Linked DNA regions of Homo sapiens: all the other regions are linked to region 3. Evidence: promoter capture Hi-C in human tissues and cell types (Jung and others, 2019). All regions are on one chromosome and are shown on one strand. The core of a region is centred on a gene start or on the middle of the fragment in contact, and the rest is flanking DNA. Distances in the headings are between cores, read along the strand shown. Region 1 overlaps LOC124904664 (a long non-coding RNA gene). Region 2 overlaps ZNF253 (zinc finger protein 253). Region 3 holds the start of ZNF486 (zinc finger protein 486).

Region 1 (3,971 bases), core at 1,239-3,738, 310 kb after region 3:
TTATACCTCTTTCTAGAAGCAATTGTTAGCTTCCTATAGGGCTTTGCTGGAAACAGAACACCTCTGCTTCAACCATGATGTCTTTATGAGGCCTGAAATTCCTATTATGACTTGGGTCATGAGTTCCCCCAAAACTCACCAGATGGGGCATGACAAGGGGGAGAACTGGGATATAGGAAGTCCTTGAGTTTCCAGCCCTGGGATCCAGAGTCAGACACCACACTCCCCAGACTGTGGAGGATTCACCACCAGACCAGGAAGCCACAGCCTGGGCTTCAGAGTCGGCCACTCGTCCACGCACAGACGAGGAGAGGTCTCATGAAACTTCGGCGCCATCTGGGATCCCAGCTCTTTTATTTGGCATAAAGCCCAGTCACGAGGGCCCTTAGTGACTGGGCTCAAGGAACACAAAAAGGTCAACTTGTTTTTGTGATTGTCTATCGTTTTTCAATAAGTAAAGTATAGGAATAGATGGAAATAGAGATTTCTCCAAAACAGCACTGGATGAATGCATCAAAGGTCTCACACAACCTCTTCCTGGACTTGGTGATCATTGTTTGTGTCCACGTTCAATTGAGTTCAAATTTAATATTTAACTTTTCCTCCACAAATTCCCCTGTCTTGATGAATCAGCTCTGTCTAGGCAAAGGGCAAGGTGAACCCCTTGGGCCTTACACAACCTCTGCCTCCTGGGTTCAAGCGATTCTTCTGCCTCGGCCTCTGTAGTAGCTGGGACCACAGGTGTGCACCAGCATGCCCGGCTAAATTTTTGTATTTTTAGTAGAGATGGGGTTTCACCATATTGGCCAGGCTGGTCTTTAACTCCTGACCTCAAGTAGTCTGCCCACCTTGGCCTCTCAAAGTGCTGGGATTAGAGGCGTGAGCCACAGTCCCTGTCCCTAAATGCTTTCTATCTCCTATAGCAGTTTGAAATTACTTAAAGGTTGTTTCAAATTGAAAAAATAAAAGGAATGTAGATATAAGTAAAATATAAATAGTTTAAAAATTACAAGAGATTACAAAATATATATGCAAATCTCGAAAGGTCAAAAATGACAAATTTGATTTGTTTATAAGGTTTTATTAAAATTAGCTTTAGTATTGATAATACACTATTACCAAAGTAAAAGTTGATTTTCTCTTGAACAAAAATTTTACGTATTATTAATATAACAGCAAAGTACTTCCGTTCACCTTTCGAATACATTCAAAAAGAGAGAGCAAAAAAGAGATAGAATTTTCCCATGCTCTGGGGTGGGCCTGGCTCAGCTCTGGGAGAAAGCCCTGCCTGAAAAAGATGCAGCTTAGGCTGTGACTCTTTCATTGCTCAGCGCAGCATCTTATCACATCTTCTCTCACTAGGTCCTGAAGGGGCGAGGCCTTAAGCATTATCCAATCAGGGACACTGGGCTGGAAACCGTCCAATCAGACACCCAGCTGGAGCGAACAGGTCGACTTCCGAGTTTGGCGGGGCCTTTGTCTCTCACTGCACCTGGAGCTCCAGGTCTCATCTTCACTACTCTGTGTCCTCTGCTGCTGGAGGCCCAGCCCTGTGACCTGACGGTTTTGGGAGATCCACAGCTAAGACGCCAGGACCTCCTGGAAGCCTAGAAATGGTGAGTGCCGTCGGACATCACGAGAGCAGGGGAGGAACTGGTTGGAACCGGTGGGAAGTGGCTGTGGCGGGACTCAGGCCTCCCCGCAGTCAGCTCCGCAATCTGCGCCCCAAGTTCTCCTTGCCCAGCTCGGCCTCAGTCCCTTTCAGCCGTAAGATGGAGGCTGCGCTCACACCCGGGCCCCCCGGCGTCCTGTCTCTTCCCCTCGCAGTGACTGTGCCCTGGCCTGGAGCCCTCTCCGGGCAGCTCTGCACCCACAGCGCCACGTGTCTCCCAGATCGTGCAGGGACCACGGGAGGGTCCTCAGGGGAGAATCCTGACTCAGGATGCAAGTTCATGAATGGGAAGAGCTTTGGTGCTTGGTCTTCACAGTTTCCCTTTTCTCCTATTAAAAATGTATGGGCCCTTGCGCGGTGGCTCACGCCTGGAATCCTAGCACTTTGGGAGGCCGAGGCGGGCGGATCACTTGAGGTCAGGAGTTGAAGACGAGCCTGGTCAAAATGAGGAAACCCCATCTCTACTAAAAATACAAAAATTAGCTGGGTGTGATGGCGAATGTCTGTAATCCCAGCTACTTGGAAGGCAGAGGTGACAGAATCGCTTGAACCCAAGAGGCAGAGGTTGCAGGGGCTGATATCTTACCACTGCACTCCAGCCTGGGCGACAGAGCAAAACTCTGTCTAAAAAAAAAAAATATGAGAGTCGCCGCAAAAATATCAAATAATTTAATTAAAGAGTGATTCAAGAATTGTTGAGCACCCAGCTATAGTTTGTACTTTATGGTCCATGGTAGGGGCTTGAAGGAAAGACATTTATAAGGTGCATGATGAAGAAAACCATATTCAATCGTTGGTTAGGTATAGTTACGTAGTTTCTTATTTTGTACAATCGAGGTGGAAATGTCCTAGTTATGATTCAGAGCTTAATTGGCAGTTTATAGTTGTGTAAGCTTGAATTTTATTTCCCTTAATATAGTAATTTAACAAAAAGTGCAATTAATTATTTTCACACCTCACAGGGAACTGATTTTTCCCTGGCATTTTTCACATGTGTCCCAAGCAGGGCCTCAAGTGTACCCCATGTTCCTCAATTAATCATTCTTTAAAAAGCATGGCATAACACTATTGAAAATATTTGTTTTCTGTTTGTAAATATTTCCCAGGAGAAGAAAGCAAAGAATAATCCCCTGACACTGTATTGTAAAAAATATTTGTGTCTTTTTCTTTTTTCTTTTTTTTGTTTTGCTTTTTGAGACAGAGTTTTCGCTCTGTTGCCAGACTGGAGTGAGGTCCTACAGTTGTGCAGCCGCGCGATCTGGGCTCACTGCAACCTCCACCTCCCGGGTTCAAGCAATTATCCTGCCTCAGCCTCCTGAGTAGCTGGAACTACAGTCATGTGCCACCATGCCCAGCTAGAGAGGTTTCACCATGTTGGCCAGGATGGCCTGGATCTCTTGACCTCGTGATCCGCCCGCCTCTGCGTTCCAAAGTGCTGGGATTACAGGTGTGAGCCACCGTGTCTGGCGCCTCTTTTTCTTTTATTTTTCCAGAGAACTTACCGGAATGTTTTTGGGTCAAGATTACCCTTTGGAAACTTTGTAGGATGATGTGTCCTCAGCCAACCTTCAGTTTTTTTCTGGTCCTGGGTTTTAGTACTTTCTGGGAATAAACCAACATACCCACTATGGCTATGTCTGCTAGAGTGTCTAGTGACTATTATCTCTTGGGTCATTTTCTCCCATAGGACCACCTGAAGCATGGAGTGTAGACTTTCAAGGGAGCAGGTGGCAGCCTTGGGGCTGAAAGGCATCTTCTGGTGCACTTTTTTTTTTTTGAAAAGCTAACCCCTTGAGACATGAAGATTGTCTTCACTCAACCTGGCTTTCATTTCTAGGAGACACATTGCTGGTCAGTCAATCAGATGCTGGTATTGAGGGGAAAACAAATAATTTCTGTCTTCTGGATTATCTTGTGGGAGGGGCAGAAAAATAGTGAAAAAACACTCCAAAAGACAAAAAACTGACCCCAGTGAGATGGCATAAATAACTTACAAAGTAAAATGCACCTGGGGCACTCACTGGGGCATAGTGCAGTGTCTCCTGGGAGGGTGGTTATTGCGCATGTAAGTGAACAGGATGGGGTGGGTGATTGGATCTGTACCTTGAAAAGATTTGTTTACTTATTTTGACCTCAGTTTTTTTTTAGACAGTCTCCCTCTGTTGCATAGGCTGGAATGCAGTGGCTTGATCTCAGCTCACTGCAACCTCTACCTCCTGGGTTCAAGTGATTCTCCTGCCTCAGCCTCCCGTGCAGCTGGGATTACAAGCATGCAACACCAAGCCTGGGTAGGTTTTTG
Region 2 (3,735 bases), core at 763-3,262, 270 kb after region 3:
ACTAATTCTCAGGCTTCCCATGGCCATTGATCTCTTATTACAGCTTCTCCACATACATAACATGAAGTGACATTGAGAGACTGGGCTACATGCTTGGCTAATTGCAAAAACAAATTTCTTGTTTTTCCTGGAATTTCTGGTACTGGCACATTTAGTTCATCATAGAAAGTTTGAAACACTGGCTCAGGAGAGTCTTTGTAAGCTTCTCGAACCAAGATATTTACTCAAGGATCCAGTCTGGCCCCGTCGATTCCTAAGGTCACATGCTCCTCTTTTTTTCTAGCGAGGATCAAGGGGATTGGTTATGACTAGCTCTAAGGGGTTACATTGTCCCTGAGTACAGGAAGGGCCATTTTTTCCTTTCTGAAGGTGGGATGGATCTTTTTCATTTTTTTTTTTAATCCAAGTGGCCTAAATGACACAAGACCAGTGTTCACATTTATTTCCACACAGTGCTAATTTATGACAGTTGTATTTATTTTCTGCCATATAGCCTCTTTTCTAATTAAGAGAACCACACCTTATTCCTAACTTATTACTATTAATGACAGCACAGGCATCAAATTTTAAGGTGACTTGTTTGGGCACCCCTTTTTCTTCTGTTTTAGCTAACACTTTACTCATATCATTTATGAGCCCCAACCAGTCCTCAGTCCTTAATCTTATTTAAAAAACTGTCCCTCCAGGGTTCAAGCAATTCTCCTGCCTCAGCCTCCAGGCATGCACGACCACGTCCAGCTAATTTTTGTATTTTTAGTAGAGACGGGGTTTCACCATATTGGCCAGGCTGATCTTGAACTCCTGACCTCAGGCAATCCACCTGCTTCATTAAATTATGCACTAAAAGTGTATAATTACACTGTTTGTAATACAAATGATAAACGCTAGAGGTGACGGATATCTTATTTACCCTAATGAAATTTCTACATATTGTATGCCTGAATCAAAATATACCATATAAGGCATAAATATATACACATACAATATACCCACAAATACTAATAATAAATTTCAGTAAGAAAAAAATAGGCAGGGTGCGGTGGCTTATGCCTGTAATCCCAGCACTTTGGGAGGCCGAGGTGGGCGAATCACTTCAGGTCAGGAGTATGGGACCAGCCTGGCCAACATGGTGAAACCCCGTCTCTACTAAAAATACAAAAATTAACCAGGCATGGTGGCGCACACCTGTAATCTGAGAACTCCCACGTTCAAGCAATTCTCTTGCCTCAGCCTCCTGAATAGCTGGGATTACAGGCATGTGCCATCATGCCCAGCTAATTTTTGTATTTTTAGTAGAGGTGGGGTTTCTCAGTGTTGGTCAGGCTGGTCTCGATCTCCTGACCTCAAGTGATCCATCTGCCTCAGCCTCCCAAAGTGCTAGGATTACAGGCATGAGCCACTGCACCCATCCCATACAACTTTATATTTAAAGAACCATAAATATTATATTAAAACCTGTCTAAACCAATAAATATACCTGGCTGTATTTTAATATTTTTAACTATAATTAATAATTTCTTTCTGTCACTATAATGTAGAAAAGCATTACTCTGAAACCCCACCTTATTTTTTATCTTTGCTTATTAATAAAATAATTCATTATGATTTTTGAAAAAAAGTTTTAAGATGTTCCGCATACATGTTAATGTAGGTTAGACCATCCAAAAGACATTCAAAGCATCAACATTAAGTCATTGGCTAGGATTATAGAAATGAGAACATGAACCCCCACCTTACACATTACTTAATATCAGTTAACTACAAAGAGCCTCTCCACTTATATTTTCATCATGCATCTTACATTTTAATGTCCTTACTCTTTTATAGAAAAGGTCATACATAATGCCCAACTAATAAAAAACAATCTCTAATATCTCTAATGCAGCAACAATTGATCACATGCTTTCACATGTGAATATAATAGGAATAAAATAGCATAAAGCAATGTGAAAGCTGTATTATATCATTATTCACTTTTCAAAAAAATTTTTTCAAGAAAACAAGTATACTTTCAATGTAATTACAGTGCTTCAAAAATCCACTTTTTAAAAAATTATATAGAAATAATTTATCTAACAGCTGTAGCTGTGGATTAGTTTTTATACTGAACATTCTGATTTAGTGTAATGTCTGAAGTGTCAGTGCCTTAATTATTCTATGGAAAATTCTCTGATATTTACATAGAATCAATTTTGAATTAAATATTTTTTGATATTTACTGCATCTGCAAAAATATATTTTGGTATAAACCCTCTGGTGTTTTCTAAGCTGTCATTTTTGGAAAAGAAAAGTCTTTCCATTCATTACATTTGCAGTACTATTCTCAATATAAATTCCCTTGATTCCCTGAAACAAAGCTTGAGCAACTGCTTCAGGGTTTTCCTCTAGTACTACATGTGTGCACTAAGATCTGTGACACAAGTAAAGGCACTACAACCCCCTTTATATTTGTAATGGCTGTCTTCAGAATAAATATTCTTCACTTTAAAGACTTCTATTTTCTGAAAGATTTTTTGACAGTAATTGCACTTTTAATGCTTTATTAACTATGAACCTTCTTCTGTTCAGTAAGATGTGAGTAGGCATTAATGGTTTTTCCATATTCTTTGTATTTGCACAATTTTTCTCAAGGATAAGAGCTTTCCTGTGAAATAAGGTATAAGCACTAATAAAATATTTTGCCACATTCTTCACACTTACAGGAGTTTTGGCAGTATGACTTCTATCACCTACAATCATGTATGACAATCATATAAAGGCTTTGTCACATTTTATACATTTCTAGGGTATTACACTAGTATAATTTATTTTTATGTATAGGAAATGTGGAGGTGTTGGTAAAAGCAATGTCGCATCTTTCAGGTTTCCAGATTTCCTCTTCAGCATGAATTATCGCCATGTCTCTTAAGAATTAAGAACTTGTAGCCAGGCATGGTGTCTCTTAAGAATTAAGAACTTGTAGCCAGGCATGGTGGCTCACGCCTGTAACCCCAGCACTTTGGAAGGCCAAGGCAGGTGGATCACCTGAGGTCAGGAGTTCGAGACCAGCCTGGCCAACATTGTGAAACCCCATCTCTACTAAAAATCCAAAAATTAGCCAGGCGTGGTGTTGGGCACCTGTAATCCCAGCTACTTGGGAGGCTGAGGCAGAAGAATGGCTTAAACCCAGGAGGCAGAGATTGCAGTGAACGGAGATCATGTCATTGCACTCCAGCCTCGGTGACAAGAGTGAAACTCCATCTCAAAAAAAAAGGAATTGAGAACTTGTTATAGGTTTATAGGTTTTGCCACATTCTTCACACTTGTAGGGCTTCTGTTTGGTATGAATTATGTGTAATAAGGGTTGAGAACTTCCTTAAAAAGCTTTGTCACATTCTTTATATTTGTAGGGTTTGTGTTCCATATAAACTCTCAAATTTACTAAGAGTCGAGGGCTGGTTAAAGGCTTTCCCACATTCATCACATTCATAGGGTTTCTCTCCAGTATGAATTATCTTATGCTAATTAAAAGTGGAGGAACATTTAAAAGATCTGTCACATTCTTCACTATGTAGGGTTTTCGTTCAATATGAATTTTCTTATGTTTATTAAGGTCTGAGGACCAGTTAAAAGCTTTGCCACATTCTTCACATTTGTAAGGTTTCTCTCCAGTATGAATTCTCTTATGTGTAGTTAGAGTTGAGGATGCAGTAAAGGATTTGCCACATTCTTCACATTTGTAGGGTTTCTCTCCAG
Region 3 (3,862 bases), core at 796-3,295:
CCTGCAATCCCAGTAACTCCAGAGGCTGAGGTAGGAAAATCCCTTGAACCCAGGAGGTAGAGGATGCGGTGAGCCGAGATCATACCATTGCACTCCAGACTGGGTAATAAGAGCTAAACTCCATGTCAAAATAAAAAAAATGTAGTAACCCCACCACTTCGGGAGGCTGAGGTAGGCGGATCACAAGGTCAGGAGTTCGACACCAGCCTGGCCAATATGGTGAAACCCCGTCTCTGCTAAAAATACAAAAATTAGCCGGGCGTGGTGGCGAGTGCCTGTAGTCCCAGCTACTTGGGAGGCTGAGGCAGGAGAACTGCTTGAACCCCGGAGGCGGAGGTTGCAGTGAGCCGAGATCGCGCCACTGCACTCCAGCCTGGGCCACAAAGCAAGACTGTCTCAAAAAAAAAAAATTTTTTTTAACCCCCTCCTTTTGCAGACTTCATATTAGCCTTAGCTTGGAATTACTAGGTTCAAGCTTTAATTTCCATGTCAGTGTTATTCACTTGGTTTTTGAAACTAAGTGTTTGAAAAATCCAGTGAAATTACTCAAACAGTGTTTACATAAAGGAAGAAAATTTTAAGATTCTTACTTTTTTTTTTTTTTGAGACGGAGTTTCGCTGTTGTTGCCCAGGCTGGAGTGCAATGGCACGATCTCGGCTCACCGCAACCTCCTCCTCCCGGGTTCAAGCAACTCTCCTGCCTCAGCCTCCCGAGTAGCTGGGATTACAGGCATGCGCCACCAAGCCCAGCTAATTTTGTATTTTTAATAGAGACAGGGTTTCTCCATGTTAGTCAGGCCGGTCTCGAACTCCCGAACTCAGGTGATCCGCCTGCCTTGGCCTCCCAAAGTGCTGGGATTACAGGCGTGAGCCACTGCGCCTGGCCCTTCTTTTGTGTGTGTGAAGGAGTCTTGCTCTGTCACGCACACTTAAGTACGATGGCGCGGTCTCAGCTCACTGCAACCTCCGCCTCCTGGGTTCAACCAATTCTCGTGCCTCAGCCTCCCAAGTAGCTGGGATTACAGGTGCCTGCCACCACACCTGGCTAATTTTTGTATTTTTAGTAGAGACGGGGTTCACGGTGTTGGCCAGGATGGTCTAGAACTCCTGACCACAAGATCCTCCCGCCTAGGTCTCTCAAAATGCTGGGATTACAGGCGTGAGCCACCGCGCCCGACCAGGAATGGGTTTTTAACCCCAACGTAGTTTTTGTTTTTGTGTCCTTCCCCTATTGGCTGGGGTCAGACCGCACAATCTAAGCTGATCCCGGTTGGCTTAGACCCAAACTTTTTCCAAATAGGATAAACGAGCGATTTGCGAGAAAAGGAAAAGGGAGAAAAAGGGGTAGGGTTGTTTTACAACTTTTACAACTTCTGATCAGGAAGTTGAGTCTTTGAAGAGGAATTTAGTTGTCCTAGCAACCCTTTACCTCAAGTGATCCGCCAGCCTTCGCCTCCCAAAATGCTGGGATTACAGACGTCAACCACCGCGCCCGGCCCCATAAATTTTTAACAAAAGAAAAGAGAAACTGTGAACCCCACGGACCAAAGCTCTTCCGAATCGTGAACCCGCACCCCGAGTCAAGATTCTCCCCTGATGACCTTCTCGTGGTTCCCGCACCATCTGGGAGAGACCCGAAGCTGCGGGTGGAGAGCTGCTGCACAGAGAGGGCGCCAGGCCAGGGCACGGTCACTGCGCAGGGAAGAGACAGGACGCCCCGGGACCGGCTGTCAGCGCAGCCACCATCTTATGGCTGAAGGGGACTGAGGCCGAGCTGGGTAAGGAGAAGTCCGGACGCAGATTGTGGAGCTGACTACGGGGAGGCCTGAGTCCCTCCACAGCCACTTCCCATCAACCAGTCCCTCCCCTCTCTCAGGATGTCCAATGGGCACTCTCACCATTTCTAGGCTTCTAAGGGGTCCCGGCATCTTGGCTGTGGATCTCCCAATACCTACAGGACACAGGGCCACAGAGGGTGGGCCTCTAGGAGCAGAGGACACAGAGTAGCGAAGAGGCGACCTAGAGCTCCAGATGCAGCGAGAGACAAAGGCCGCGCCAAACCCGGAAGCCGTCCTCTTTGCTCCAGCTGCCTGCCTGATTGGACGGTTTCCAGCCCAGCGTCTCTGATTGGATAATGCTTAAGGCCCCGCCCACTCAGTCCCTGAGTGACAGAGGATGTGATCAGATGCTGGGCTGAGTGATGAAAGAGTAACAGCCTAAGCTGCAGCCTTTTCAGGCAGGGCTTCCTCCCTGAGCTGAGCCAGGCCCACCCTAGAGCAAGGGAAAATTCTATCTCTTTTTTACTCTCTCTCTTTTTGCATGTATTCAAAAGGTGAACAGAAGTATTTTGCTGTCATATTAATAATACATAAAATTTTTGTTAGAAAATCAACTTTTACTTTGGTAATAGTGTATTATCAATACTAAAGCTAATTTTAATAAAACCTTATATATAAATCAGATTTGTCACTTTTGACCTCTCGAGATTTACACATATATTTCATAATCACTTGTAATTTTTTTAACTTTTTATATTTTATCTACATTCTTTTTTTCAATTTGAAACAACCTTTAAGTAATTTCAAATTGTTACAGGAAATAGAAATCATTTAGAACCAGGCGCAGTGGCTCACGCCTCTAATTCCAGCACTTTGGGAGGCCAAGGTGGGCGGATAACTTGAGTCAGGAGTTCAAGACCAGCCTGGCCAACATGGTGAAACCCCATTTCTACTAAAAATACAAAAAATTATCTGGGTGTGCTGGTGTGCACTTGTAGTCCCAGCTACTCCGGAGGCTGAGGCAAGAGAATCGCTTGAACCCAGGAGGCGGAGGTTGTGTAACAGCCCAAGGGTTTTACCTTGCCTTTTGTCTAGACAGAGCTGATTCATAAAGACAGGCCTTTTGCCTAGACAGAGCCCATTCATCAAGACAGGGGAATTTGTGGAGGAAAAGTTAAATATTAATTTTGAAATAAATTGAACACAGACACAAACAATGGTCACCAAGTCTCAGAACCGGTTGTGTGACCCCCTTGAGGCATTCATTGAGGCATTCATGTAGTGTCATTTCAGAGAAATCTCTGTTTCAATCTATTCCTATATGTTAGTTATTGAAAAACAAGATAACGTTTTTGTGTTCCTTGAGCCCAGTCGCAAAGGGCCCTAGTGACTGGGCCTCATGCCAAACATTTCAGCTCCATCAGGTCATTTATGTTCCTCTCCAAACTGTTTATTCTAGTTAGCAGTTCCTCTAACCTTTTATCAAGGTTCTTAGCTTCTTCAAATTGGGTTCGAACATGTTTCTTTAGCTCAGCAGAGTTTGTTATTAACCATCTTCTGAGGCCTACTTCTGTGAATTCATGCATCTCATCCTCTTATGTTCCTCTCCAAACTGGTTATTCTAGTTAGCAGTTCCTCTAACCTTTTATCAAGGTTCTTAGCTTCTTCAAATTGGGTTCAAACATGTTTCTTTAGCTCAGCAGAGTTTGTTATTAACCGTCTTCTGAAGCCTACTTCTGTGAATTCATGCATCTCATCCTCTTATGTTCCTCTCCAAACTGGTTATTCTAGTTAACAGTTCCTCTAACCTTTTATCGAGGTTCTTAGCTTCTTCAAATTGGGTTTGAACATGTTTCTTTAGCTCAGCAGAGTTTGTTATTAACCATCTTCTGAAGCCTACTTCTATCAATTCATGCATCTCATCTTCTGTCCAGTTCTGCACCTTGCTGAAGAGACATTTTGATCATTTGGAAGAGAAGAGGCACTCTGGCCTTTCAGCTGTTTTTTGTTGATTCTTTCTCATCTTCATGAGTTTGTCTAGTTTCGATCTTTGAGGCTTCTGACACTTGGATTTTTTTTTTTTA

The links. Contacts are between HindIII fragments. The study calls those that stand out against the background at their distance.
Region 1: a contact is called between a fragment that was not itself captured here and the fragment with the promoter of ZNF486 in region 3, in 1 of the 25 tissues and cell types used here (aorta).
Region 2: a fragment that was not itself captured here is called in contact with the fragment with the promoter of ZNF486 in region 3 in 1 of the 25 tissues and cell types used here (mesenchymal stem cells).

The regions. Positions count from the first base shown.
Region 1 is chr19:19,858,708-19,862,678 of GRCh38, reverse strand. It overlaps LOC124904664 (a long non-coding RNA gene), which reads left to right. Exons shown (of 4, transcript XR_007067169.1): 3 at 1,363-1,616; 4 at 3,360-3,859. Among named protein-coding and RNA genes, the nearest start is that of ZNF253, 5.2 kb to the left of the region's middle. RefSeq lists an enhancer at 1,240-1,790. The HindIII fragment of the contact is 6,030 bases long and covers 1-3,971 here.
Region 2 is chr19:19,892,503-19,896,237 of GRCh38, reverse strand. ZNF253 (zinc finger protein 253) reads right to left here. Exons shown (of 4, transcript NM_021047.3): 4 at 1,564-3,735. The coding sequence ends at 3,491. Among named protein-coding and RNA genes, the nearest start is that of ZNF93, 6.6 kb to the left of the region's middle. The HindIII fragment of the contact is 4,796 bases long and covers 1-3,735 here.
Region 3 is chr19:20,165,397-20,169,258 of GRCh38, reverse strand. ZNF486 (zinc finger protein 486) reads right to left here and starts at 2,045. Exons shown (of 4, transcript NM_052852.4): 1 at 1,899-2,045. The coding sequence starts at 1,928. The region is part of intron 5 of LOC105372310 (a long non-coding RNA gene); the gene reads left to right. RefSeq lists an enhancer at 522-1,463. The HindIII fragment of the contact is 10,632 bases long and covers 1-3,862 here.